2 separate regions of the Homo sapiens genome follow, and region 2 is linked to region 1. The links are contacts of gene promoters, found by promoter capture Hi-C in human tissues and cell types (Jung and others, 2019). All regions are on one chromosome and are shown on one strand. Each heading gives the region's core, a stretch centred on a gene start or on the middle of the fragment in contact. The rest is flanking DNA. Distances are from core to core; before and after follow the strand shown. Region 1 holds the start of ACTL9 (actin like 9). Region 2 overlaps NFILZ (NFIL3 like basic leucine zipper).

Region 1 (5,205 bases), core at 1,878-4,377:
TTTCTCCATGTTGGTCAGACTGATCTCCAACTCCTGACCTCCAGGTGATCCACCCACCACAGCCTCCCAAAGTGCTGGGATTACAGGCGTGAGCCACCGCGTCCAGCCAGTACTTATCATTGATGTAACAAACCCTCACATAGCACTTACTATGTGTGAACCACTGACCTAAACACTAGAAAACAATAACTTGCCCATCCTCATAGCTGCACTTTGAAGGTGGCACTATTATTACTCCCATTTTGCAAATGGGGATACTGAGTCACAGTTAGTAGTTTGCCTCAGCTATTAAGCAGAGGAGTCAGGGCTTAAATTCCAGAAGCCTGGCCCCGGATCTGTGGCCTTAGGCACATCATGGCTTTGTTGCCTATAATCACGATATTTTCCTATATTGTTGCTTCAGTATCTCAGAAGCTAGCATCTATTAAGTGCCAGACAAGGTATCCTCATTTTATCCAAGAAGAGAGGAAATGGAGGCTCACAGAGTCCCAACCTTTGTTTCTGTTCTATTTTTAGTGGGTTTTTCTTGTTTGTTTGTATGTTTGTTTGTTTGTTTGTTCCTTGAGACAGGGTCTCGCTCTGTCACCCAGGCTGGGTGCAGTGGTGTGATCTTGGCTCACTGCAGCCTCCAACTCCTGGGCTCAGGTGATCCTCCCACCTCAGCATCCCTAGTATCTCGGACTACAGATGTGAGCCACCATGCCTGGCTGTTTTGGGTGGATCTTAGATTTCACAATTTCCCAGACTCACAGTCAGCCACTGAAGTAAGTCAAAGATGTAGGCTCAACTCCTGCCTCTGTCTCATACCAGTTGTGACTTTGAACAATCACTTGACCTCTCTGAGCTTCTTTTCCATCAAAAAAATAGACATAGTACCCATTCCTAAGTCATAAAGTTGCCATAAGAAGTTGCCATGTTTTAAAATCAGAAAATGAAGAAAGGCCAGGCATGGTGGCTAATCCCTGTCATCCCAGCACTTTGGGAGGTTAAGACAGGAGGATCACTTGAGCCCAGGAGCTCAAGATCAGCCTGGGCAACATAGCAAGACCCCATTTCTACAAAAAATTAAAAACTTATCCGGAGATAGTAGCACATGCCTATAGTCCCAGCTACTTTGGAGGCTGAAGTGGGAGGATTGCTTGAGACCACGAGGTTAAGGAGGCTGCAGTGAGCAGTGATTGCACCACTACACTCCAGCCTGGACAATATAGCAAGACCCAGTCTCAAAAAAAAATTGAAAACAATAAAGTGTTATCACTTAGTGTATTTCTGGTTGTTGTGAACAGTCCAAAAAACAGACCCTCAATAAATTGCTGAGTAAATATTTCCAAAAGCATGGATTAGACCACACATACCAGTAAATCAATAATTAATTAAAATGCTCAATAAACCACACTCTGGCAGAGTAATAAATCTAGACACAACTAGAAAATTAAACCTCTTTCATTTAGATATCCCATAAGACATTCACTAGCACTATTCCTGGTGATTTCTACCACCACATGCATGAACATACACTAAGAAAAACGTTTTTATTTGCTTTAACTAACAGGTGATATCTGATATCACCAAAAACAGCCATGGTCTTGAAGCAACTCTCCTAATGCATTTTGAAGCCTGCTATTTATTGTTGAGATAATTCCTTCCTCCCAAATGCACCCTCTCCCCTTTTATCTATACTGAAACCCCTTCTTGTATCTCACTGAGCCCCTCTCCTGCCAGGAGGAAGCAGGTAACAACCCCTGGAGAGAAGGCAGACTTCCCCCATCCCTCATCTAGTTGGAGTACAGAGTAGAAATCAGGGTTGGCTTCCAGGAGGAGGTGGCATCAGACTGAGATTTGAAGAGGCAAATTCCTTCTTGGCAGGAATGGGACAGGGAGAATGATTCAGGCAGTGAATATAGCAGAGGAAGCAAAGAATCTAGGACAGGGGTGTTCCTGTCTCTCCCTGCCTCTCTCCATCCCCAACCAAGGCTGGCCTCTGTCTCCATTTGGAAACCAGGAAGCCATGCTAGCCCGCCCCACCTTCTAATTAATATTCTGAGGAGGAATATTCTAATATTCTAGGGAGGCCTGTGGCAAGCTCTCTGCCACTAGGCTGTAAATAGCTTCATGGCGAGGTACCCAGAGGAGGATTCCTGGGTCTTCCTGAAAGCGTGGCCCAAAGAGTTAGAGAAACCAATTTTGCATGTTTTTAGTGAAACCATGCCCCAAAGAAATGTTTGAGCTTGCAGAATGGCAGATCAAAAAAGAAACAACTTGCTGAAATGCCTTCCACTTATGAGGGTTTTTTGTTTGTTTCTTTGTTTGTTTGTTTGTTTGTTTTGAGATGAGTCTCGCTCTGTCATACAGGCTGGAGTGCAGTAGCATGATCTTGGCTCGCTGCAACCTCCACCTCCCGGGTTCAAGAGATTCTCCTGCCTCAGCCTCCCTAGTAGCTGGGACTACAGGCATGTGCCACCATGCCTGGCTAATTTTTTTTCTTTTATTTTCTTTTTCTTTTGAGACAGAGTCTCACTCCATCCCCCAGCCTGGAGTGCGGTGGCATGATCTTGGTTCACTTCAACCTCCACCTCCTGGGTTCAAGTGATTCTCCTGCCTCAGCCTCCCCAGTAGCTGGGACCACAGGCATGCGCCACCATGCCAGGCTAATTTTTGTATTTTTTGGTAGAGACGGGTTTCACCATGTTGGCCAGGCTGGTCTCGAACTCCTGACCTCAGGTGATCTCCCACCTCGGTCTCCCAAAGTGCTGGGATTACAGGTGTGAGCCACAGCCCCCGGCCCCAGAACTTTTCTAATAAAATTACTGCCTTAAAGCCAGCTGAGAAACAGACTTGTGCTGGATTCCTAGCTCCCAGTGGGTTGACATGCAACAAAAAGCTTGTCTTTTCTCAAAAACCAGGTGCCATCGTATTAGCTTCTAGCGCATCCGACAGAAATGTGTTAAGAGGGCCCTGCTCTGAGATGCTCATCTCCTCCTCCAAATTTGGCTCTTCAGAGAAGAGATGACAGCCTTTGGGCAGGCAGGGCTGGGCAGGGACCCATCCTCTTGGCTGCATTGTGATGTCTTAAGAAGACTGAAGGGGCACCGTGACGTCATAGATTGCGGGCCCACCCCTCCCCCTGTCTGCCTGCCCTCCCCACTGGCCGGGCCTCAACCTCTTCTCCCCGCAACCCCAACCCCAGAGGAAAAGCCCCCTCACCTGGCGTCCCGCAACCATGGATGCAAGTCGCCCCAAGTCCTCGGAATCCCAGTCCTCCCTGGAGGCCCCCAGGCCCGGCCCAAACCCCAGTCCCAACGTGGTGAACAAGCCCCTGCAGCGGGACTCCCCCGGCATGGTGGCCGACAGGCTGCCACCAAAGACCGGCGCGGTGGTTATTGACATGGGCACAGGCACCTGTAAGGTAGGTTTTGCTGGGCAGGCCAGCCCCACCTACACCGTGGCCACCATCCTGGGCTGCCAGCCCAAGAAACCCGCCACCTCGGGGCAGTCCGGGCTGCAGACGTTCATCGGCGAGGCAGCCCGCGTGCTCCCAGAGCTGACGCTGGTGCAACCCCTGCGCAGCGGCATCGTCGTGGACTGGGATGCCGCCGAGCTCATCTGGCGCCACCTGCTGGAGCACGACCTCCGAGTGGCCACCCACGACCACCCGCTGCTGTTCTCCGACCCACCCTTCAGCCCGGCCACCAACCGCGAGAAGCTAGTGGAGGTGGCCTTCGAGTCGCTGCGCTCCCCAGCCATGTACGTGGCATCGCAGTCGGTGCTGTCTGTCTACGCCCACGGTCGTGTCAGCGGGCTGGTGGTGGACACGGGACACGGGGTCACCTACACAGTGCCCGTCTTCCAGGGCTACAACCTGCTCCACGCCACGGAGCGTCTGGACCTGGCGGGCAACAACCTGACCGCCTTCCTGGCGGAGATGCTGCTCCAGGCCGGCCTGCCCCTGGGACAGCAGGACCTGGACCTAGTGGAGAACATTAAGCACCACTATTGCTACGTGGCCTCCGACTTCCAGAAGGAGCAGGCCCGGCCGGAGCAGGAGTACAAGCGGACTCTGAAGCTGCCCGATGGGCGCACGGTCACCCTGGGCAAGGAGCTGTTCCAGTGTCCGGAGCTGCTGTTCAACCCCCCAGAGGTCCCGGGGCTGTCACCCGTCGGCCTCTCCACCATGGCCAAGCAGAGTCTCCGCAAGTTGTCACTGGAGATGCGCGCGGACTTGGCCCAAAACGTGCTTCTCTGCGGTGGGTCCTCGCTCTTCACCGGCTTCGAGGGTCGCTTCCGGGCAGAGCTGCTGCGCGCTCTGCCAGCCGAGACCCACGTGGTGGTGGCTGCCCAGCCCACCAGGAATTTCTCCGTATGGATCGGGGGCTCCATCCTGGCCTCCCTGCGCGCCTTCCAGTCCTGCTGGGTCCTGCGGGAGCAGTACGAGGAACAGGGTCCCTATATCGTGTACCGCAAATGCTACTGACCAGGGCAGAGCTGGGGAGGGCGTGGGGGCAGTAAAGCCTCTGCTACAGCCGGCTCTGTCCTGTCCTTCCTCCAGGGCCTGCCCCATCCACTCCTGGGCACCTCGCCCCACAGGCTGACCTAACTCACCTCCTGTGATGCATGCCCTGAGACACCCCAATCCTGACCCCCTAAACCCACCTTCCCCATGAATAACTCCCAACAGACCACTAAGTTCTAATCCTGTCAACCCATCCTCCTGTGATCTGTGCCCCTCCCCAGGCACCCTTGGGTTGGGACACCCCCTCCCCAGACCACCTCTGACAAGTGCCCTTCCCATTTACACACTCCCAGAGATGGGGAGTTCACTACCTCAAGGCTATTGTTAGAAATATCACCTCCTCCTATGAGTCATAGATAAGCCTCCACCTGGCACCTGCCCCCAACCCCAAACATGAAGAACATGAAAGCCTCTGACCACCCACCCCATGCCCACACACACCCCTAGGGTCTGCCACATACCCAAGCCACATACCCAATTCCTTCCATTTCTAGTTTAAGTGATTCATGCATTGATCCCACATACATTCATTAATTACCCACTATGTGCCCAAGACATCCTCAAATACTGACTCCCTAATCTCACCCCATTATCTATTGCTTTTGATATAGCATCCCAAAATACCCCTGGGCTCCAAACCCTCCAAACTGCCACCCCCCTTAGTATGCTCCTCAGGGACCCCCCAACCCAGTCTC
Region 2 (5,176 bases), core at 321-2,820, 49 kb after region 1:
TTATGTGGACTGCCTCTGTACATGGGAATTTCTCTGAATTAATTTCCATGGAGAACACAAAGTTCACCAAGAATAAATGATGAAAATGCGCTAAGTTGAAGTTTACATGTACATTATGAAACCTCAAATAAATAAATACGTAAATTATGAAAATAAATAGTAACTAGAGAAATCCAAGTAAATTCTGTACTGGAGAGAATCAGTCATATTCTATCAGCATCAATGTCCTGATCTTTTTTTTTAGCATGAGTTTCCTTTTATTTCTATTTCTTTCTTCTTTTTTTTTTTTTTTTGAGACAGAATCTCACTCCATCTTGCAGGCTGGAGTGCAGTGGTTCAATCTTTGCTCGCTGTAACCTCCGCCTCCCATGTTCAAGCAATTATCCTGCCTCAGACTCCCCAGTAGCTGGGATTACAGGCGCGTGCCACCACGCCCGGCTAATTTTTGTATTTTTAGTAGAGACGGGTTTTGCCATGTTGACCAGGCTGGTCTCAAACTCCTGACCTCAGGAGATCCCCCTGCCTTGGCCTCCCAAAGTGCTGGGATTACAGGCGTGAGCCACCGCACGCAGCCTCTATTAATTTCTTTATACCCATCCATGTAGGGCTAACTCACTCATGCAATGTGCTGATCTTGACACTGGACTGTGGTCATGTAAGATCTTGTTAGAGGAAGCTGGGTGCAGGGGACATGAGAGCTCTGTGCTATTTTTGCAGCTTCTTGTAAGTCTTAAACTATTTCAAAATGTAAAAGTTATCAAAACAAACAACCACAAAAAAAAAAACCTCAGCTGTAACCGCAGTAATTTTTTGGAACCAATTTTTTTTTTTTCAGACGGAGTCTTGCTCAGCTGGCCAGGCTGGAGTGCAGTGGCATGATCTCAGCTCACTGCAGCCTCCACCTCCCGGGTTCACGCCATTCTCCTGCCTCAGCCTCCCAAGTGGCTGGGATTACAGGCGCCCACGACCAAGACCGGCTAATTTTTGTATTTTTAGTACAGACGGGGTTTCACCATGTTAGGCAGGCTGGTGTCGAACTCCTGACCTCAGGTGATCTGCCCATTTCAGCCTCCCAAAGTGCTGGGATTACAGGCGTGAGCTACCACGCCCGGCCAAAAGATTTTTTTTTTCAGGGTATTTTATTACTAACATTCTTTAGAATTCTGGGCATATGTGAATGATAAAAGCAGACTGCCTTCTGGTGATTTTTATTCTTGCTTTTCAATTCTCTGCAGACAATGTGAGGCAAACTGCTTTCCCCACCCTGCCCAGGGACTGGGCTGGACCAAGAAAACCAAAGTTCAGTAAAACAGGACCCATACAGCAGAGCCGGCAAGACAGGCGCTCATGGAAAAATTATGCTTTGAAAATGCTTAATTATGCCGGGCACGGTAGCTCACGCCTGTAATCCCAGCACTTCGGGAGGCCAAGGCAGGTGGATCACCTGAGGTCAGGAGTTCAAGACCAGCCTGGCCAACATGGCAAAATCCCGTTTCTAACAAAAATACAAAAAATTAGCTAGGCGTGATGGCATGCACCTGTAATCCCAGCTACTCAGGAGGCTGAGGTAGAAGAATCGCTTGAACTCGGGAGGTAGAGGTTTCAGTGAGCCAAGATAACACCACTGCACTCCAGCCTGGGCAACAGAGCGAGACTTTGTCTCAAAAAAAAATTGCTTAATTGCCAGGTGTGGTGACTCACCCCTGTAATCCCAGCACTTTGGGAGGCCAAGGTGGGAGGATTGCTTGAACCCAGGAGTTCAAGACCAGCCTGGGCAACGTGGCAAGACCCCATCTCTCCAAAAAAAAATACGAAAGTCAGCCAGGTGTGGTGGTGCCTGCCTGTGGTCCCAGCCACTCAGGAGGCTGAGGTGGAAGGATCACTTGAGCCCAGGAGTCTAAGGCTGCAGTGAACCATGATCATGCCACTGCACTCCAGCCTGGGTGACAAAGCAAGATCATGTCTCAAAACTAAATAAATAAAAATACATAAATATGCTTAATTATAGGGTGAGATAAGGGCCTTGAAAGAAAAGATAGGGGCTTCCTGAAATCACAATTTTACTTTTTTTACATCTGCCTTTTTTTTTTTTTTAAGCAGAGTCTCACTTTGTTGCCCAGGCTGGAGTGCAATGGCATGGTCTTGACTCACTGCAAATCTCCACCTCCCAGGTTCAAGCCATTCTCCTGCCCTCAGCCTCCCAAGTAGCTGGGATTACAGGCATGCACCACCACGCCTGGCTAGTTTTGGGTTTTTTGTTTGTTTGTTTGTTTTGTTTTGTTTGTATTTTTAACAGAGATGGGGTTTCACCATGTTGGCCAGGCTGGTCTTGAACTCCTGACCTCAAGTGATCTGCCAGCCTCGGCCTCCCAAAGATCTGGGATTACAGGCATGAGCCACCATGCCCAGCCACATCTGCCTTTTTTGTGTAGTAATATATACATAATGTAAAACTAACCATTTTAATCATTTCTCAGCGTCCATACAGTTCAGAGGCATTAAGCACACTCACATTGTGCAACCATCACCACCATCCGCCTCCAGAATGCTTCATCTTGCAAAACCAAAACAGCATACCCATTAAACACTAGCTTCCCATTCTTCCCTTCCCTTTATTTATTTATTTTTTTAAGTTCCAGGGTACATGTGCGAGACGTGCAGGTTTGTGACATAGGTAAACGTGTGTCATGGGGGTTTGCTGCACCTGTCAACCCATCGCCTAGGTATTAAGCCCGGCATTCCCTATTTTTCCTTTTTTTTTTTTTTTTTTTTTTTGAGACGGAGTCTCGCTCATGCCCAGGTTGGAGTACAGTGGCTCAATCTCGGCTCACTGCAAGCTCCACCTCCCAGGTTCACAGCATTCTCCTGCCTCAGCCTCCCAAGTAGCTGGGACTACAGGCACCCGCTACCATGCCCGGCTAATTTTTTTTGTATTTTTAGTAGAGACGGGGTTTCACCGTGTTAGCCAGGATGGTCTTGATCTCCTGATCTCGTGATCCACCCGCCTCGGCCTCCCAAAGTGCTGGGATTACAGGCACGAGCCACCGCACCTGGCTTCCCTATTTTTCCTGATGCTCTCCCACCCTGCCCTCCCCCAACAGGCCCCAGTTGTGTGTGTGTGTGTGTGTGTGTGTGTGTGTGTGTGTGTGTGCGCGCGCGCGCGCGCGCATGTGTGCGTGTGTGTGTGTGTGTGTGTGTTGTTCCCCTCCCTGTGTCCATGTGTTCTCATTGTTCAGTTCCCACTTATAAGTGAGAACATGCAGCGTTTGGTTTTCTGTTCCTGGTTTAGGTTGCTGAGAATGATGGCTTCCAGCTCTATCCACATCCCTGCAAAGGACATGATCTCGTTCCCTTTTTTTGGGGGGGGGGGTGCGGGGACAGAATGTCCTTCTTGTCCCCCAGGCTGGAGTGCAGTGGTGCGATCTCGGCTCACTGCAACCTCCACCTCCTGGGTTCAAGTGATTCTCCTGCCTCAGTATCCCAAGTAGCTGGGATTACAGGCGCCTGCCACCATGCCCAGCTAATTTTTGTATTTTTAGTAGAGACAAGGTTTCACCATGTTGGCTAGGCTAGTCTTAAACCCCTGACCTCAGGTGATCCACCCACTTCAGCCTCACAAAGTGCTGGGATTACAGGCATGAGCCACCGCGCCTGGCCGATCTCATTCCTTTGTATGGCTCCATAGTATTCCACGGTGTGTATGTACCACATTTTCTTTATCCAGTCTATCATTGATGGGCATTTGGGCTGATTCCATGTCTTTGCTATTGTGAATAGTGCACCAACCCTTGCCTTTACACTACTGTTATTAGCTGCCTGCATAACTGAGTTCAGCATTGTTCTAATCACGTTCCACATAATAGCCTCCTCTGATCCTCACCCAAACTTATAAGGCAGGAGTACCTGCCTATTAACATCCTATTTTACAGATGAGGAAACTGAGGCACAGAGCGATCAAGGTATCCGCCCAAGGTCACACAGCAAGGCAGTCATGGAGTCGGATTTGAACTGGGGCCAGCTGCCTCAGGGCCTGTGTTCTTCCTGCCTGGGTTTTCCTAGCCTAGATCCGGGTCAGGAGGAAGGCTGTGAGGGGTCACTTCTCTGAGGATACGCATTTGCTCTTGGTTTAGGAGGAGCAGCAGAGGAAGGGCATTTTAGACAGAGGGAACAGCACAGACAAAGGTCCTGAGGTGTTTGGCAAATTGGAGGGACAAAGAGGAGCTCGGTGAGGGCTGAGTGACGTGGGGACAGCAGTGGGAGACAGGACGGGAAGTGATAGAGGGAACTGCATTGTGCAGGGCTTGCCGGCCACAGTGGGGATTGTGGTCTTTAACCCAGGGGCCTCGGGGAGCCACTGACGGTTCTAGGCAAAGGAAGAGTGGCTCTTACTTCCTCTCTCCAGTTATGCAGCCTCTGGCATTACTGGGAAACAGTCAGAACTCCTTTGGGTGTAAAAACAGAAGCAAGTGGCAGAACTGAACACAAGGTGAGGGGTCCAGGAATCCTGGTTCTGGCCACGCCAGCTGTGTGGCCTTGGACAAATTGCTTAACCTCTCTGCGCCCCAGCTTCCTCATCTGTGCAATGGAGATTAATACAAGGCAAGTGGTTAGGCTGGGCGCAGTGCCTCACGCCTGTAATCCCAGCACTTTGGGAGGCCGAGGTGGGCAGATCACTTGAGGTCAGGAGTTCGAGACTAGCCTGGCCAACATGGTGAAACCCCATCTCTACTAAAAGTATAAAAATTAGTTGGGTGTGGTGGAACACACCTATAATCCCAGCTACTCGGGAGGCTGAAGCAGGAGAATCACTTGAACCCAGGAGGCAGAGGTTGTAGTGAGCCGAGATCGCGCCACTGGACTCCAGCCTGGGCAACAGAGCAAGAGTCCATCCCCCCCAAAAAAAAAGAAAAAAAAATAAGGGTCTGGCATGTAGTAGGAGCTATACAATGTCACATATTATTTAGGTTGGTGCAAAACTAATTGTGGTTTTCCAGTTACTTTTAATGGCAAAAACCACAATTACTTTTGCATCAACCTAATATCATCTTCGTTTTCACAGTAAATATGGACCCACATAACTGAAAAGCTAGCTGCTTCAGGTGAGGCTTGATCCAGGCATCCACCAGACCTCACCAAGGCTCTGGTGCCTCTCCTCTGCCATCACTGGCTGCCTGGG

What was found. The method cuts DNA at HindIII sites, captures the fragments that hold promoters and counts their contacts. A contact is called where the count stands out against the background at its distance.
Region 2: a contact is called between a fragment that was not itself captured here and the fragment with the promoter of ACTL9 in region 1, in 1 of the 25 tissues and cell types used here (psoas muscle).

What each region holds. Positions count from the first base shown.
Region 1 is chr19:8,696,717-8,701,921 of GRCh38, reverse strand. ACTL9 (actin like 9) reads left to right here and starts at 3,127. Exons shown (of 1, transcript NM_178525.5): 1 at 3,127-4,522. The coding sequence starts at 3,221. The coding sequence ends at 4,471. The HindIII fragment of the contact is 20,213 bases long and covers 1-5,205 here.
Region 2 is chr19:8,645,771-8,650,946 of GRCh38, reverse strand. All of the region lies in intron 3 of NFILZ (NFIL3 like basic leucine zipper), which reads right to left. Among named protein-coding and RNA genes, the nearest start is that of NFILZ, 18 kb to the right of the region's middle. The HindIII fragment of the contact is 7,952 bases long and covers 1-5,176 here.